Regions from separate parts of the Homo sapiens genome. Here regions 1 and 3 are each linked to region 2. The links are contacts of gene promoters, found by promoter capture Hi-C in human tissues and cell types (Jung and others, 2019). All regions are on one chromosome and are shown on one strand. The core of a region is centred on a gene start or on the middle of the fragment in contact, and the rest is flanking DNA. Distances in the headings are between cores, read along the strand shown. Region 1 has its middle 17 kb from the start of LINC00575. Region 2 holds the start of TMEM150C (transmembrane protein 150C). Region 3 overlaps TMEM150C (transmembrane protein 150C).

What was found. Contacts are between HindIII fragments. The study calls those that stand out against the background at their distance.
Region 1: a fragment that was not itself captured here is called in contact with the fragment with the promoter of TMEM150C in region 2 in 1 of the 25 tissues and cell types used here (mesendoderm cells).
Region 3: a contact is called between a fragment that was not itself captured here and the fragment with the promoter of TMEM150C in region 2, in 1 of the 25 tissues and cell types used here (IMR-90 fibroblasts).

What each region holds. Positions count from the first base shown.
Region 1 is chr4:82,603,078-82,606,716 of GRCh38, forward strand. No RefSeq gene overlaps it. Among named protein-coding and RNA genes, the nearest start is that of LINC00575, 17 kb to the right of the region's middle. The HindIII fragment of the contact is 4,070 bases long and covers 1-3,361 here.
Region 2 is chr4:82,560,066-82,563,379 of GRCh38, forward strand. It overlaps TMEM150C (transmembrane protein 150C), which reads right to left and starts at 1,923. Exons shown (of 8, transcript NM_001080506.3): 1 at 1,841-1,923. RefSeq lists an enhancer at 1,649-2,148. The HindIII fragment of the contact is 10,143 bases long and covers 1-3,314 here.
Region 3 is chr4:82,502,084-82,505,395 of GRCh38, forward strand. It overlaps TMEM150C (transmembrane protein 150C), which reads right to left. Exons shown (of 8, transcript NM_001080506.3): 2 at 2,495-2,584; 3 at 976-1,029; 4 at 812-844; 5 at 644-711. The coding sequence starts at 2,574. Among named protein-coding and RNA genes, the nearest start is that of TMEM150C, 58 kb to the right of the region's middle. The HindIII fragment of the contact is 8,691 bases long and covers 1-3,312 here.

The DNA of each region.
Region 1 (3,639 bases), core at 77-2,576, 42 kb after region 2:
AGATGAGAAAGCTATTTGCTGGTACAGGAATATACAGATTAAACACATAAAGGCGCTACTTTTGTGTAAGAAAAAGGAGAAACAATAATACACACATTCACATTTGCTGTATTTGCATAAATAAATAATAAAAATGCTTACTTGTACAGAGAAAATAGGAAGTGGAATGAGATAAATGGAAGAGGAGGGGAGCCAGACCCGTCACGGTTTGATATTGTTTCGACTTTTGAGCCATGAAAATATATTACCTATTTCAAAAGGTTTTGCGATTTGATATTGAAGTATTGTCAAAGTGGTTTATTGAGCATTTAATATATAATTTTCCAGTGAAGTAGGCTGAGTTTGTATGATTGACCACATTGGATCCAGGAGGAAATAGGGCCTAGTGTGATTTAGATACAATCCCACCTCTGCTATTCTTTGATCCTGGGCAAGTTGCTTAACTTTTCTAACCCTATCTGTAAAATGGGAATAATCGTAGAAGTGAAACAATGAATGTGGAGTCAAGTGAGGACTCAGTAAGAGTTAACTATTATCATTATGATTATCATCTACCATAGCTGGTCAGTGGCTGGGATGCTAGACCCCAGGTCTCCTGACTCCTAGTCCAGTTTGTGTTTCACCAGAACATAGGCAGGAAAGCGCTTGTTGTGTCTGTTCAAATAGAGATTTCTTGGAAGAAACACACCTTCTAAGAGGTATGAGCAGGTTGGTATTAACAAAGAAAAGTCTGTGAAATGAAATGAATAGATAATTCCTTTAAAAGAAGTTCTCTCCTCTATTCAGCATAGCACTATAAAACTTAACTGCAGTGGATGAATTAGTATTAGGGATTGATTTAAAATAATATAGGGGTAGAGAAAGTGGGTGGGGTATACATGAAACAAATTAGCCATGAGTTGACAACTGTTGAAGCTGAATGATGGGTACATAGAGGTTTGCATACTGATTGTCAACTTTTATATATATTTAACATTTCCATAATAAAAAGTTAAATATATATTGTAGCAGCTTAAACATGGCTACAAAATTCTCTGATACTCTTCCTGTTTGAGGGGTGAAGTCTATGTCACTTCCTCTTAATCCAGCAGGTTTTGGGACTGTTCTGACCAATAGAATGCAATGCAAGTGGCCCTGTGCCAGGCTCCCTTTAGGCCTTAAAGACTGGCAGCTTCTACCCTCATCTCTTGGAACACGGTCTGGAGTCCTGAGCCACCATGTAAGAAGTTTGACAACCCTGCTAGAGAGACCACAGAAAGGGGCTCTTGAGACTACACGGAGAGAAAAAGGGGCCTGGCTTCCCTGTTGTTCCTGCCAAGGAGGCACACATGTGAATAAAGCTTTCTTGGACCCTCCAACCTAGCCCCACCACCAGCTGAATTCCACAGAGTGACCTCATTGCTGTGATACAGAGCATAACAATTGTCCAGGAAAGCCCTGCCCAAGTTCTCAACCCACAGACAATAAATATGGGAAAATGATTGATGTTTAAGCCATCAAGTTTTGGGATAGTTTGTTACACAGCATTAGATAGATAACCAGAATACACATGCCACACACACACATGCACACACATATGTGCACACATACACACACCCACATACACACAAACACATGTGCACACACATATGCATGTACACACACCAGACACACATGCATACACATACACACACATACACGTGTACACACACATACACATGTGCACAAACATACATCTACACACATATACATTTTAAACAGCAACAGCAGGAATTTAGTTTGAAAACATTTGGATATCTGGCTACCTAAAATTTTGCAATGTGATAAAACTAAAGTACCAAATTATGAAGAAGTTGGTTATCAGTGGGACAAAGATATTCAAGTATTTGAAATTTAGGGCAGTATTTTAAAGGCAGAGAGGGTCTTTTTAATAAAGTAAATTGCAATAGTAGGTTGTGAAAGATTTACTTTCAGAGTCTGAGTAGGTCTTCTAGTTTTCATTTGCTGCCAGTTTAGTTGTTGACAAAACTATTGAGGGGCAAAAAACGCTCAAATCTCTTAAGAAGAAAGAAACCATTACAAACAGATCCAGCCACATTTCAAGGGAGCATGTTTTGATGGCTGCTTTTCCAAGTTTTCAATGTTGTCCTTTCATTTAAAAGCACACATATTTCACAGAGTAGATGATATTAATTGTGTTTTTTTTGAACAGCCACTGATTTTTTAAAATCCAGTAGACTCATCATTTACTTGTACAAACTGCACTTGTCTTGATTTCAGTGGTAATTTCACTTAATCAAGTGATCTCTGTTTTATTTATTTTCATATGTGATACAATTAGCAAAACAACAATGAAAGAAAACAAAAGAGACAAAACTTCAAGTGGATGTTGTTGTGCTTTATAGAACACCTTCCCCAATTTGCCAGATTGGATAGGTTGTATCAAACATCAGCTTTTCCACAAGCCCTCCCTCTCACCCTACCTGGAATAGCAACTCCTGTAGCACTACAGTCTGGCACCATTTTATTTTTCTTCCTTGTAAGTATGAAGGCATTCCATTTTACAGTCACTTGTTTGCAATCCTCTTTTCCTGTCATTACAACATAAGCTCTTTGAGAATAAGACCTTTAGATCCTGCTGGACCTAACACAATGACTAGCATAATGCTTAATAAATATTTGTAGAATGAATGAATGAACGAATGAGGATTTTTTTTTCCCCTTTTTTGAGACAGGGTTTTGCTCTGTCACCCAGGCTGGAGTGCAGTGGCATGATCATGACTCACTGCAGCCTCAACCTCCTGGGCCCAAGTGATCCTCCCACTTCAACCTCCCCAGCAGCTAGGACCACAGGTGCACATCACCACACCTGGCTAATTTTTAAATTTTTTGTAGTTGAGATCTCTCTATGTTGCCCAGGCCTGCCTCAAATTCCTAGCCTCAAGTGATCCTCCTGCCTCAGCCTCCAAAATGTCAGCATTACAGGTGTGAGCCACCACACCCAGCCCTGAGTGGGGATTTTTATCTCAGTTAATTTATAGTAGGAAATCACCTAAATATATCAAAATATGGGAAAAGTTAAATAAGTTACAGTATGTTATATCCATGTGATAGGATGCTATGGAGCTTACGGTAATTAAACTGAATTTCAAAGTACAACATGGCCAGTGGACTTTCAAATGATGCCAGACATTTCTAGGTCTGTAGGAGGAGACCACCAGCCTCCTAACTTCCTTTCCTTCTCATGAGAAGAACACCTTAATAGTTATGTACTTGTTCTGAAATGTCAGAGGCAGTTAGGCACCTGTTGCCTGAGGGAAGGACAGTACCTTTTCTGGGCTGAACCAAGATATTGCTCCCAGTGCTTCTTAGTACAAATTGTTCTAAGGAGGAAGTGGTCTCACTTGTCTAAGGAGCCCAGGGGCCTTCTGAGGGGGAAGTGACTGAGACTCTCAACAACTTATCACTGAAACTCAAAGTTGGACAACTTTTTGGGGTGGATTGAGAGGGCCTAATAAGGCTCCCCAACAGGATCAAGCAGAGTGTCGTTTAAAATACGATTATCTTGAGTGTGGAAAGAGATGGGACAGGTGGTCTGCTGTACCCTGGAGTCAAAAGGAAAAATGGTGTCAGCGATCACTGTGGTCCATGAGCAAGGAA
Region 2 (3,314 bases), core at 673-3,172:
GATTGTGGTAGTTCTACAACAAAGGCTAAATAGAACGCATTATTGTGTTCACGCAAAAAAAAAAATTACTCCATAGAGCAAATTATCCCCCCACAAAGCAACATGGAAAAGGTATTTGTAAGAAATGCATGAATTAAGCAATTGCTCTGAAGACTTAAATGCCAATTTAAATAATCCAAACAGATTGCATTCAGCTAATGGCAGATTATAATAAACATGCATTAAAGTGTTTTTCAAATACTTTAATATATTTGTGAATGTCATAACATCTATCAACTAGTCATTATTGTTAGCAAAACTTCTTTACCCTTTTATTTACCATGTCCAGTTTGTGAGCTTCCAACTTGGGGGACTTGCAAAACATTTATTAAATAATGTATAAAGGACACACCATTAAAATTCCTACGCTTATGCCTTGAAGATTAAACTCACATTTCTAGCTCATTAATAGATGACAGCTATAGTTAATCCTGGAAACATGGAGTCTCTAGAACACATACAAGAAAAAGTTTGGGATTTGATACATGAGAGCTGAGACTAAAATTCTTTGATCGGTCACATATATGGGCCTAACAATTTTTCCTTGAAATAGGAAACTTTAAGTAGGTCAGTTTAATGACTGCTACCATGGAGTTTATAAATCCACACTCAACTATCCTTTCGATGAACTGCTGCCCAGAATGGAGTTATAGCCCTGCACTATTAAAATGTCTTTGGTTCAAGCAGAGAAAGATGCAGAAACTGATCCTGCCATTTAGGCTTTGTTATTGTTTTAGATCCAATAACTGTTTGGTTTTGTTTTTCAACATGGCATTGGTATATCTGGTTCCCCAACAGGACCTCGCATGTAGGACATCGGAGTGGGTTCACTCGGGAAGATGGACTTCCATTCTACCTGAGCTATGTTCCCACATGCGGTCACAATCCTGGCCCAACCGTGAAAGGCGGTCTGGCCGGAATAAACCTGACCAAAAAGATCAGTGAAATGTGTGGGACATCATAAAGTGCTGTGGGGGTAGGGGTGGAGGAAAGGAATGAGTAGAGAAAAAAGGAGCATGAATTTAAAATGGGAAAACCCTCTCATACTCCATTTGATTCATTTAAGGAGGGGAAAACCACTCAAGGACTCTCTCCAGAACCCAAAGCTAATCACTTTTTTATTGCAGCAGATTACCAAAGAGCCTAGGTAACCCACCTACCACGGCCTCCCGCCGAAAAACCAAAAATCCCATTTCTTCCCAAGTGTGCGCCCAGGAAAGGAAGGAAGACTGTGCATTTAGAGTGGAGGGCGGTACACAGGGCAAAGCAAGTTAGTGCCTCCTTCCCAGATCCCCTGCTTCCCGAGCCAGCCTGACCTGGCTAACCGCAAAGTGCAGGGAGAATGGCACAGGGACCGGGAGGTCAAACTTGGGGTCGCTTCTCACCCGAGTCCACCCGATAACGAGATGATGGGGCGGCGGGTGGGGACACCTGTCAAAGGACGGGGCCGGGGCCGGGGCCGGGGCCGCAGCGGGCGGGCTGGCTGGCGGCACTGCGGCGGCGGGGACCGAGGCGCGCCGGCTCGGGCGTTCGCAGGTCGCGGGGCAGAGCCGGCACCGACTCCTGGACTTGCCGGGGAGCGTGCGCCCGCGGAGGGCTCGGGCGGGCGGCCCCGCGCCCGGGACGCTATGGGAGGGGGCCGCAGCCGAGCAGGGCCCCGCAGCCGGGCGGACCCAGCCGCCCCAGCCGCGCTGCAGCCCCCGCCGTCCCCGGTCTCCGCCTGCGGGCTGCGCACGGGGCCGGGCCGGACGCCCCCTGGCTGCGCGACGGGCCCAGGCAGGGGAGGGGGCGCCGCGCCTACCTGCTCTGGTGCGGCGGGGCCGCTGTCGCCTCGAGGGGCTGTGACCTGCTGCGGTGGCGGCGGCGGCAGCAGTAGCGGCGGGTAGGGCGCTTCCTTCAGGAAGGGGTGGGATCTGCTCACCCGCCCGCCCGGCCCCCTCCTGCCGCGCCGGGGCCCGCCCCCGACTTATTCTGGGGTCCCCGCTGCTAGGCCTTCGGGGAGAGTTGATCCCCTGGGTCTCGGGCTTCTGCCACCCCCCCGGGGCCCCTAATAGTCACCCGGGGCAGGAGCCGGGTGTGGGCGGGCGAGCCGCTTCCTTCCGAAGCCTTTGTGGACGCGTTTGCCTGGCGCTCCTCATCCAACAAAAGGAAGGACAGAATCTTGGATCCTCCGCCTGGTGGTTATTTATTCCTGACCTGTTGTAACCTTCTGCCTGGCTCTCTTTCGTCCGCACACCTAGGGTTTTTGCACAAAGCAGCTAAAATTCATTTTCATGCCCATTGACTGAATGTAGTTCTCCTCCACTCAGCGCTGTCCCGCGGTTTTTGGTTTTTTTTTTTCCATCCTATTGAACAAACACAGAGCCAACTTCGGACCCTGGCAATGAACAGCAGACACCAAGGCCGACCTCCCAGCGCCAGCTTGCAGCTTTCCTCCCTGGGTCTCGTCTGAGTCCGTCATAAACTGTGTTCATCAGCGTTTTGACAGCTTCCCCCATCCCGGACCCCCAACCTACCATGGGACCCCATGGCACCATGTCAGTGACCTCTAGCAGCAGCATGGATCAATGCCATTTTTATCTTAGGCTCATCATGAGCCTGGGTTCCAAACACAACCTCTCTGGCCTCCAACAGGTGGCTCTCTATCAACCGGCCTTTGTCAGTCTGCCCTCTATTCTTTTGGGGGCTTCCGTAGCACACCTGTCTCCTTTAAACTGCTGTCTCTACACAAGCAGGCATTCCCTTTTTTTCTTTTTCTTTTTCTTTTTCTTTTTCTTTTCTTTTCTTTTCTTTCTTTTTTTTTTTTTTTTTGAGACGGAGTCTTGCTCTGTCGCTCAGGCTGGAGTGCAGTGCCGCAATGTCGGCTCACTGTAACCTCTGCCTCTCGGGTTCAAGCGATTCTCTCGCCTCAGCCTCCTGAGTAGCTGGGATTACAGGCGCCCGCCACCATGCCCGATTAATTTTTGTATTTTCAGTAGAGGCGGGGTTTCACCACGTTGGCCAGGCTGGTCTCAAAACTCCTGGCCTCAAGTGATCCGCCTGCCTCAGCCTCCCAAACTGCTGGGATTACAGGCGTGAACCACCGCGCCCGGCCCAACCAGGTGTTTCTAAGAATCTTCTCCAATTCAGCATATTCAAATTCTGCAATTAACGTTCGGTTCCAGAACTCTCCCTTCCCCACAATTCTTGTGATTATTGTCTACTATGTGTATATTGATTCTTTTTTTTTTTCTGTATGTTGATTTCTTGTTACTGTTTTCTCCTGGCTACTAGAC
Region 3 (3,312 bases), core at 46-2,545, 59 kb before region 2:
GGTTCCCACCATCTCTGGAGGACTATGCAGGGTCATGGACGCACTCACAGAGGGACAGAATATTACAGGAGGGTCTTGGGCCCCAAAGAAAAAGGAACTGGGGCTAGATATGAGTACTAAAGGTTTCTTCTTTTTAAGCTTACTTCTCCATTTGCCAGCTTACTATGTCTATAGGCACAGGAGAGAGTGTAATCCTAATGCTGATGTTGACCTTTAGGTTTAAAGACAGTATCTACACACATCAACAAATATCACAAAGCCCATGCATTTTTTTCATCTTTGCTAGTGAAGGAATAAATAAAGCATTCTTTTCAAAGCAAATGTATTATACAATATTACATTCTCATACAGGATTTTATATCATGAAATATATTATTTTATGCAGCAAAATAGATCAAGTCAAGAGTATCTGAAATGATAAAGATGGTAAAGGGAAGAGAAAATGTAAGGACAGCAGGGTGAACGTAAATGGATGTACGAGAGAAAAAGACCTTTAAGACAAAGAGCTGGCTTCAGCATATTGACATCGTATGATACTAAATGATCAAATAAGCCCCCCATTGTTTTGACAAGGGTTTGGGAGAATTTAAAATACAAAAGAAATGTACCAAAGCACATAAAGCGTTCTTTACCCTCTTCTTACCTAGGAAGGCTGCCATGTTCATAACTTGACTAAACACACAGCTTGCAGGAGGATCATCACCTGCAATGCTTGAAAAAGATGAAATGTTTTATAGTTACTATATCAAAATCTATAATCCTCCTAACTTTTCCTACGGTCCCACAGGACAGAAGAGAATTGCTGGGTTACCTTATATATGGTGCATGCTTCACACCAGGTTTCCTGGATAATAAAAAAAAAAAACACAGAAGCTCAGGTTAAAGCACTGTCATTTGTGCAGTTTAACCTTCCCAGTGGGAAAGTTTTTGCTAAATCTCTTGATGAACAACGAATTACCCACAGATAAACTTTACCTTTCAGCTGAATTTAATGGTAAAATTTTGTCATCTTCCACAGCTATGAAGTATCTATCAAAAAAGAATAAGTTTATAGAACAAAGAAATTGGAAAAAAGAATCATTTGTTTCCCAGTTTTATTAAACTAACTGCACTAATTCATATTCATTTTTTCTAACTGAGAAATGCTCTTTTACAATTCTTTACCCATAGATCATCTAGTTCTTTGAAGCTCAAATGTCATTATTAGTAATATTTCCTTAATTTTCAAAACATCCCCAAAGTAATGGCCATGCTTATAAACTGGAAACTAGAAAACAAGGAAATAGAACTTACAACTTTGAGCAAACTAAAATTAGGGTTCAGTTTCTAACTTCTCGGGAATATGTGTCCTACCTTTCCTAACAAACTTTGAGAAACTAAAATAATTTTCTTAAAGTGAATATTACCTAAAATAAGCAAGTGTGGGAACGTTCTGTGGTAAGCCAGGACTTCCAATGTAATGATATTCATTTTATAAACATATCAGGCCGGGCGCAGTGGCTCACGCCTGTAATCCCAGCACTTTGGGAGGCCGAGGCGGGCAGATCACGAGGTCAGGAGATCGAGACCATCCTGGCTAACATGGTGAAACCCCGACTCTACTAAAAATACAAAAAATTAACTGGGTGTGGTGGTGGGCGCCTGTAGTCCCATCTACTTGGGAGGCTGAGGCGGGAGAATGGCGTGAACCCAGGAGGCAGAGCTTGCAGTGAGCCAAGATCATGCCACTGCACTTCAGCCTGGCAACAGAGCAAGACTCCGTCTCAAAAAAAAAACAAAAACAAAAAACAAAAAACAAAAACATATCAGACCCAATCATGAATAACTGGACTATGAACTGGACTGCAGACGGAACCCATGGCATGTTAGTGTCAAATTCGAAAATCTTGCAAATAATTAATTCATATAACCTGTTTACAAAATGTTCATTACAACAAGAACACATGAACACAAAATAAACTAGTATTCTTCACCACCGGCTTTGCATAATTATTACTCACTCTTGTTACTTACTTTGGTTAATAGAAAATGGGAAAAGAAATGAGGACTTTAGCAAGGTTGAATTAGTAAAATATATTATTTTCAAGTATTTATAAATACAGTCATAAAGATATGCCATCTACTATTTTTTGGGGGGGTGGGGACAGTCTTGCTCTCTTGCCCAGTCTGGAGTGCAGTGGCGCAATCTCAGCTCAATGCAACCTCTGCCTCCAGGGTTCAAGCGATTCTTGTGCCTCAGCCCCCCGAGTAGCTGGGATTACAGGCGTGTGCCATCACACCCGGCTAACTTCTGTATTTTTAGTAGAGACAGGGTTTCCCCATGTTGGCAAGGGTCTCAAACTCCTGACCTCAAGTGATCTGCCTGACTCGGCCTCCCAAAGTGCTGAGATTACAGGCATGAGCCACCGTGCCCGGCTGCCATATACTATTAAGGTTTACATTTGTATCTACATTGCACCTGAATCCTTAAATAATTAAATGAGCAAATACTCACACTATCCACAATCCAGCTGAAGTAAACAAAGTAAATACAAGAGGTAGGAACATCCATACGCTGCATTTCTTCCCATCCATGCCTGTACCACTGAAATAAAATAAACACGTATTAATAATTAAGGCAAAACATTTACTTCACTCTTTCAAGATAGAAAGTTTAGTCTAACTGGGCCAAGCACGGTGGCTTACACCTGTAATCCCAGCACTTTGGGAGGCCGAGGTGGGCGGATCACGAGGTCAGGAGATCGAGACCATCCTGGCTAACACAGTGAAACCCCGTCTCTACTGAAAGTACAAAACAATAGCCGGGCGTGGTGGCGGGCGCCTGTAGTCCCAGCTACTTGGGAGGCTGAGGCAGGAGAATGGCGTGAACCTAGGAGGCGGAGCTTGCAGTGAGCCGAGATCGCGCCACTGTACTCCAGCCTGGGCGTCAGAGCGAGACTGTCTCAAAACAAACAAAAAAGAAAGTTTAGTCTAACTGAAAAAAAAAGTGTATTTTATGAAACCATGATTCAAATTGGTATCATTATTCTCACCTACTCATGTGGGAAATCCCTGAAACAGTTAACATGGATGATTGTTATCTAGCTTAAATGTTCCAGAGTTTTAGTTAAGAATTAATAGAAATTTTATTTTTAAATTTTTTTTGTAGAGATGGGGTCTAGCTATGTTGCCCAAGCTGGTCTTGAACTCCTGGCCCAAAGTGATCCTCCTACCTTGACCTTCCAAAGTGTTGAGATTACAGGCATGAGCCACAGTGCCCGGCCAGAAAATTTTTCATAAAAACATTTATCCTTGTATAAGTATTGATACATT